Regions from separate parts of the Homo sapiens genome. Here region 2 is linked to region 1. The links are contacts of gene promoters, found by promoter capture Hi-C in human tissues and cell types (Jung and others, 2019). All regions are on one chromosome and are shown on one strand. The core of a region is centred on a gene start or on the middle of the fragment in contact, and the rest is flanking DNA. Distances in the headings are between cores, read along the strand shown. Region 1 holds the start of GSX2 (GS homeobox 2). Region 2 overlaps SCFD2 (sec1 family domain containing 2).

Region 1 (3,954 bases), core at 1,272-3,771:
AAGTTCTGTTACATAGAAAACCCATTGAGCCACAAACTCCCTCAGTCAAGAGACCCACATTACCAAGTTCTTACTCAACATTTTCCTCGAATTCCTCAGACAGCTTTTTCCTGCATATGCCTTTCTCTAGACATTGGAGGAGGGGGCAGGAGAAGATAGGGAGAGCAAACACCACAGATTTAAAATTCTGGTTTTTGTTTCATTTATTTAAATAAATATAAATATAAATTTTATATAAACCTATTCACATACAAAGGGACTTCCAGCGACTTAGATTTTAAATTCTCCCCAGGCGAAATTTCAGAAAGCAAGACCTACAAGGTCTAATTTTCTAAATTATTTTCAACTTGGGTGTTTTTGTTTGAAAACGACAACAGAAAATAATCAATAAATCCTGTGTTCTTATCGAGTTCTGAAAGAGAGTAGGGATGGGGAACTGACATGTGCTTTCAAAAACCCCATACAGTGTTAAACTTAAACCAACCCTGTTTTTCCTCTGTTATACGACAAGAATGAGTTGAATTATAGGTTATTTACATTTTTTAAAAAAATCTGTAACTTCAAGTTGGAGTCCTAGATAAACAGGTCAAGAAGGAGACGCGAAGGGTCAGGTCCCGGCTTGTCCATTCCAGAACTTCCAGGTTCGTTTCTTCTCCAGATGGGACCACTGCAATGAGCAAGGATTCTGGCCCCTGGGTGCCCCACGCCTTGGCGTTGCCTGGTCTGCCAGGAGCGGGGGATGTGAGGGAGGAGGCCCTCCCTCATAAGGGGGAAATCTCCTTGTCATCGTTGGCTGAGGCCGGCGACAGGGAGTCCTCATCCTCGGAGCGCGCGTAGTGCACCTGGCTCCCGACGCACTTGCAGCCCGCGTGACTGTTCCTCTGCGTGCCCTTCCCCTCCTTCTTGTGCTTCACTCGGCGGTTCTGAAACCAGATTTTCACCTGCTTCTCCGACAGGTTCAGGTAAGTGGCGATTTCAATCCTCCGGAGTCGAGACAGGTACATGTTGGAAGAGAATTCTCTCTCCAGCTCCAGGAGTTGCGTGCTAGTGAACGCCGTCCTCATCCTCTTGCCATTGGGTACCTGGCTGGCGTCAGAGCCTCCTGCGGACCGGCGAAGAGAGGGTAGAGAGGTAAGGCTCGGGCAAGGTGCTCCCACCCCATGTGCTAACCAGGACGCATTTCAGGGACCCACCCGGGGAAGCCCAGCCGAACATCTGTATCCCTTTCCCATTTCAAGGCACGTGGTTGCTTAGCGGGGAAGAAAAGAGACGTGCAAAGCAAATAAAGGTCTTCGATGCGCAGGATGCGAAGTCACAGGATTAAAGAGGGATGGGGGCTTGCACTATCTGATCGCCTCCCTTTGAGCCAAGCGGAGAAGCGCGCAGGCTTAGCCAAAAACGTCAAGACGCTTTAGCCGCCCCGACGCGGGGATGCCACACAGGTTCAAACACACCCACCCCAAATCCCAAGCAGTTAACCTCTGGTTTATCCGCCGTGACGTTCGAGGTCCCTAAGGCCCCAGTATTAATAAGGCAATACTCGAGCACCTACTACTAGGAGTAAAACGCACCAGGCTGAGTGGAGAAGCTGGCAAACTAACTTCCACTTTCGTGGAACTTCTGTGGCTGACTCTACGGTTACACTAAAAGCCCGTCCTCTCTCTTCACCCTGTCCCCGGGCTCCCACTTCCTCCACTGGAGGTGGAAAGTTTGCTCCAGGAGCGCGAAAGGCGCGGAGCGCAGGTGCCCCAAGACCCCGCCCTACCCATGGTGAGGCAGTGGAATCTCCGCGGGTCCGCCACGTTGTAGGTGGTGGCGGTGCAGACAGGTGCGTGGTGCTGCGGGTGCCCCAAGGCCGCCGCGGCCGCCGCCGCCGCTGCTGCTGCTGCCGCCGCCGCGGCCGAGCCAGGCTGCTGGGGCTGATGATGGTGATGGTGGTGCTGCGGCGGGTGGTGGTGATGATGCGCATGGTTCACCCGCGGGCAAAACTGCGCGTCCCCAGGAGCCGAAGAGAACTGGCCCTTAAGCAGAGGCAGTGCCCCTGCGGCCCCTGCCACCCCACTGCCTCCGGCCCCGGTAACCCCGGCCCCTGCGCCCCCGCTGCCGGCGCCCACAGACCCCCGAGAGGAGTGCAGGTGCGAAGTGACGCAGAGAGGGCACACGCAGAACGCGCCGCTCTTGCGGGACGGGCAGCCGGGGCCGGACACGGACATCACCAATGGGGGCGGCATGCCAAGCGGGATGAAGAAATCCGGCCCGGGGTGCGGTTCAGGCAGCGAGGGCGCAGGCCGTGAGGTGTCCTTGATGATGAGCGAGTCGACATAGAAGGAGCGCGACATGTCGAGAGGGGTGGGTGGCTGGAAGCCCCGGCAGTTCGCGGCGACCCCTCTCCTCTAGTGTTCTAAGCTCTGCCCTGGGAGCCGCGCAGACACGGGCAGTCAAGCCCTTGGGGACGCAGAGGTGTTGGCGTCTGGGCTGGGAACAAAGGGGTCCCCGGAGAGGGCTGGTCCTCACGTCCCCCGCCCGGCGCCCCGGCTCGGGTATTTTATAGCCCCCCACCCTGGCACGTGATGCTGCGGAGTACCGCTCGGCTCAGGCTCCTCGGCAGCTCCGCACCCTCGGGATAGGCTGCCCGAGTCACAACAGAAGCCGCGAGGAGGGGCGGGCGCGCGGCGGGGAAGAACTCGGGGGAGGGGGATGGGGGAGACTTTGCAAAGTGTAGGTTTTGTTAATTTCCCGGGGAGGCCGGCCTCCTCCCCCTCTTTCTCCACGCTTTACTGAGAAATCACAGCGCTGCATCCTCCATCCCACCCCCTCTCGCTACCCTGGCCGCAGCCCAACTCTTCCCCACGCCCCACCGCAAAGCGTACCAGGTGGGGACTTGGAGGCTTATTTAATAGGAATGCTCAGTGTTTCCAGCTCCTCTGTGGTAGGGGTGGCTGCGGCGCGGTGAAGTGTGAGGCCTGCGGTTTGGAGCAGGATTGTGCGGGCGACGGACTGGCAGTCGTCCAGTCCCTGAGCGCAGCTCTGGCCACGGTTACACCTACCCCTGTCCACAGCTTTTGGACTTGGCAGAGGTCATTCAGGTGGTTAGTTCAGGACTGTCCGGCGCAGAACTGTGAGGCCTCCCAGCTAAGAAACCGTCAAGCTTTTCATGCTGATGTTCGACAAGGTCTGAAGTGTCTTTGTACTTGGGGCCCTCCTGGGGCCACTCAGACCAACGACCCTTCCTTGTTTCCCTTTCTGATCGGCACCTCCCACTTCCGCAGAGAGAGAGAGATGTTGAAGAGTCACCCTTTTCTTTCTCCAAGTAGTAACACCATGGCATTCCAGGGCAATCCTACAAACTCCATCCTGAAGATTTTGGAGGGAGGACCTCAAACACCAAGCCCTCCTAAAGACGCAGCAGGGATTAGATAGACCTTCGCTCTGGGTCTGAGGATTTCCTGTCCCTCATTTTTACCAATCATGGGCAGCTTAGCAAGGCTAACCAGGAAGCACTCTTTCCTCTGCATCTTAAGAACCTAAAAAGGATGAAGAGGATTCAGCCATCCAGGGAATCTTGCCTCTGATTGGCAGAAGTGGCTTTGTAAGGGAACTCTCTCTGGTCCATGGAAGTCTTGCACACCCCTTACTGCCCGAGAGAGGGTGGCTGCCAAACTATTGGGACTATTTATCTTCGGAGAAGGCAAGGCAGCAGAGGTGGCCATTTTCTCTCTTCATTTCCCCCTGCAGAAAAGCGGGCTGGGGCCATGTGGTTGGGCAATAGTTAGAAGTCTGATCCTTTTTCCAGAGCAGCTAACTTCAATCCTGAGTTCATGATGGTGCTAAGAAACTTAGAGACAGGACTCCCTCCACCTGAGAGAACAAGGTGCCCAAATCCAGGAGAGCACTAGCTAGAGGCACGGCTCTATCTTTCCATCCTCTGTCTTCCCCTCTCCATCTCTGTGACAG
Region 2 (3,973 bases), core at 863-3,362, 900 kb after region 1:
TTTTGAAATTAACATCTCATTAGCATAGGTTACATTGACTTGTGTTTATAAACCAGCTCTGCATTTCATTTTAGAGCAAGATGAAATATTCATTTCTTTTTTTTTTTTTTTTTTTTGCCATCTTCTAATGTCATATTTACAATAAAGAACATCTGGATATTTGCAATTGGAGAAGTCTTCATGCTTTTGAAATATGACATTCAATAAATAGTTCTTTCACTGCTAAACAGCAATCAGCATGTATCAGATTGTTGGACAGACTTTTTCAATAAAAAGCATTTGCTTTTTCTATTGTTTAAGACATCTTAATATTATAGGTAGGTGGTAAGAAAGCAGGTTAGGCTTTGGGGAAAAAATCTGAAATTTTGTAATAATTTCTGTAATTATGCCAACATAGTTAAGTCTTTATGAATAATGGCCCTTTTTCCTCTTTTGGGCTGACCTGGAGTCCTTTTAAGTGTGAGCATGATGTTACAATACTGCCCCCTACTGTAAGACTTTGGATAATCCTTTCAAAGGAACTTCAAGAAAAACCAGAAGAAACTAACAGATGATTGGGGACAAGCATATCTTATTACATTTGGCATTTTGAAAGTATGTTTTGATGAACAGTTCAGGCCTCTTAAATGCAGAACTCTAGAATAATAGTATAATACATACTTTTGTTTCTCAGTTTGTTTTCTTTTGAATTAATGTTGTTGCTGCTCTGTTCCTTTGAGTTAAACAGAGGAAATTTTCCTCCCCCGCCATGCTTTGGGATGATGGATCTTACTCCGGGTTTTGTGAATGTGTTTCTGTTTTAATTAGTGTTGGTTTCAAGGAATTGTGAATCTTTGAAAAAAGCACACAGGGTGTCTTTGAGGCTGGATAAAGAATGATGCTTTTGTCTATCTTCCGTGTGGCTTTGGTATTTTAATAATAATAACCAATTTTGTGGTAAAGTATATCGATTCAACCAATCCTATCTTGCAGTTCATCCAGTCTTAAATCTAGCTGTCTCTAAATAGCTTTGTATTCTTTTGCATTGAGTAAAACTATAAATTTATGTGAACAAGACATTGGCATGATTTAGACTTTTTTTTTTTTGATGAAAAGTTGAATTCTCCTTCCCCCACCCCTTTTTATGGATATTGCTTTAACGAAATGATTTCAATGACATTTCTTTTGCCAATGCATATTTTCTGACATTAAAAAACAAATCAAAAGCCACTTATCATATGAATCATTGTTAAAGTCAGCAGTAATCCACTGTGTAAAATCTCCCTGCAAAGGCGCAGAGGCTAGGGGCTTAAACCTGGAGCACATTAAATTAGTTCCAGTCTCTCGCGAATGGTCTTTGCCTGGCTTGCTTAGGCAGGCAAAACGGAAACAGGCAGTTTATAACAAGAATCTGCTTTAAAAACCATGGGGTTCATTGGAGAAAGATTTATATCCTCCACTTATATAAACATTACAAATGTGGACTGCAAGTAGGAAGGAAACCTTTATCGAAATCTCTTGAAGAGCTTTTTCACTGAGAGTAAAATGGACAGCATACACTGTTGTTTGAAGACACGCCAGCATTTCGACAATCATGTTTTTCACTGCTTTGCCTGATTAAAATGTAGCATTGTGAAGACTAACCAGACCACCTACTTTCAATTTATTTTCATGATGAGACTATGTTGGCATCAAAAGAGGAGTCAAAAGACTCTGTGCCAAAGGAGAAAATGATCATTTAAGGATTTTTAAAAAGACAAAGTAATTACATGAAGTCTTAGGGTAATGGAATCTGGACATCAGTTTCTGTCACCTCCTGATCTAAAATTATTTTTATATATAAACACTATCCTAGATATCATGTTGTCTTTAGGATTGTAATAGAACACAGATGAGGCTTGAAATATTTGGTCCAATAAAATGAGAAAGGCTGAAAGGAAAGATTACCATTTGAGATTAGAGTAGCTATTTATTTGATATTTCACATATGGTGATGTTAAGTCTTGAGCTAGATTTCTGTTTTTCTCTCATCTGGTTTTATCTCATTTTTAATATCTTGGAAATTGCCATAGAAATGTACTTTTCTTTGCCCTAAATGTGTAATAACAGGGCACTATCACTAAATTAACTTTTTTCTTCAGGCTTGTTATCAGGAGCTATAATTTGATAGGTTTTAGTCACAATCCAGGTAGTACTGAATCAGTTGTTCGTACGATTTCTTCAGTCTGTCTGGAAAGTAGCACATCTGTTTTTAGCATTCTTAGCTGGTTCCAAATGTAAGCTTATTTTAAATGCACCTTAAAAACTGGGGCTGACTATGAGAAGTGGCATGGTGAAAGCATTTGAAGGACACAATGTGAAACCAGGATCCGTAGGAATGTGGGGTTAATATCTCAGTGAGCCCAGACCAGAAGGGTCACCTGGGGGCTATTTGCCTATCAGGACTATTTGCCTTGACTACAATTAGAGGTAAAGGCAGGTTTCTGAAAAGGAAAGTCATTTATTTGACTTCACCAGATGTGCAGAAGTGAAAGATGTGATTAGGTCCAACATAAAAAAATCGGGGAAGTTGTCTCTGACCGATAACATACTATTACTACTACTACTCCTAATAATTTTAGTGGATCTCACTTGTTAAGTTCTTATATGCCATGCCAATGTTAAGTTCTTTACATATACCATTATTTTTAATCCTTACAGCACTCGATTTTTAAATTGACGAAGCTGGGATACAGAGGCTTGAGTAACATGCTCAAGTCACACTACTGGCCGTGGCAGAGCCGGTCCTTGTAACCAGCCATTCTGACTGTAGAGCCCATTCTCTTAGCCTGCTTTACCACTACATGATACATACTGACTTTTCTGTTTTTAAAGCCACTTGGGGTTTTTACATGACATCTGTAACCTATAATCCTGTTAATGTCCAATCTGTCCAGTTCAAATCCATTGACTTTTTATCAGCAGCTGTATCTGTACCTACAGCCATGATGCTCAAATGTGTGGCTCTAAACGAGAAAATAAAATCTTTTTTTAAATTTTTTGAGACAGAGTGTCGCTCGTGTGTACTGGGTTGGAGACAGAAGGGATATAGGGTGATTTGTGCCAGAGGTCATCAGGTAGTGATGAAAAGAAATCTTTGGTTTAGGAGGCTGATACTCTGTAGAGAAGGATTAAGATAAAAGATGGTTTGTGTTCATCTCAGCTAGTCTATGATTTCCTTCAAATCATTAAGTTATCCTAAATCTGTGTTATTTTCTAATGATGGATTTCTACTATGGAAAGCCTCTAGTTTCAACAATAAATTGAAACTACTGGTACTTCTTTGGCTGAGTAAAACTTAGTTCTTTAAGAAATTTGATCTATGTTCATCCGTAATATGAAGAAAAGAATATATGTGTTACTAGAGTGGATTTTCATAGTGAATAATAGTCTTCAAAAGTGAGGCACAAATGTACTGCTAGCAATAACTTATATAATTATAGGTTCTAAAAAGGTTTTAATAGATAATAGTGAGTTTTTTCTTTACATAATTGGAATAAGCATTGACCAAAAGAAAGAGAATCTCAGAGGTATAAGCTAACATAGTGGTAGTAGTAGTGACAGGAGGAGTGAAAAGGAAAAGAAAACTGCATTCGTTAGTATGTTTACACACGAGACAAAAAGGATGCTCTATAGTTGATGGAAGAAGAGACAAAAGTGTAACTATAGTATTTTAAATGAAGAAGGTAATCAATAGAGAAACCAAAGGTGTTATATAAATGTACGTTGTCTGTGTATATGTTGGTTGTATGTGTAGGGTGGGGATGCAAGCAAGCTAAATTCTAATCCATCATAGTAGGAAGCCAATAGAAAGTGCTAAAAAAGTGATTTTTAAAAGAAGTGGTGTAATTATAGCACTCTATTTTATGACTTGATGCTGATCGCCAGAGTAACCCAAACCAAAAATCAACCCAAAGTGATTTTCTCTGAGAAGTAGGCGCAGACTTGGGAAGGG

What was found. The method cuts DNA at HindIII sites, captures the fragments that hold promoters and counts their contacts. A contact is called where the count stands out against the background at its distance.
Region 2: a contact is called between a fragment that was not itself captured here and the fragment with the promoter of GSX2 in region 1, in 1 of the 25 tissues and cell types used here (lymphoblastoid cells).

The regions. Positions count from the first base shown.
Region 1 is chr4:54,098,730-54,102,683 of GRCh38, reverse strand. It overlaps GSX2 (GS homeobox 2), which reads right to left and starts at 2,521. Exons shown (of 2, transcript NM_133267.3): 1 at 1,766-2,521; 2 at 186-1,102. The coding sequence starts at 2,339. The coding sequence ends at 762. RefSeq lists enhancers at 305-1,094, 1,095-1,886, 1,887-2,677. The HindIII fragment of the contact is 7,597 bases long and covers 864-3,954 here.
Region 2 is chr4:53,193,891-53,197,863 of GRCh38, reverse strand. All of the region lies in intron 4 of SCFD2 (sec1 family domain containing 2), which reads left to right. Among named protein-coding and RNA genes, the nearest start is that of SCFD2, 170 kb to the left of the region's middle. RefSeq lists an enhancer at 1-2,557. The HindIII fragment of the contact is 8,584 bases long and covers 1-3,973 here.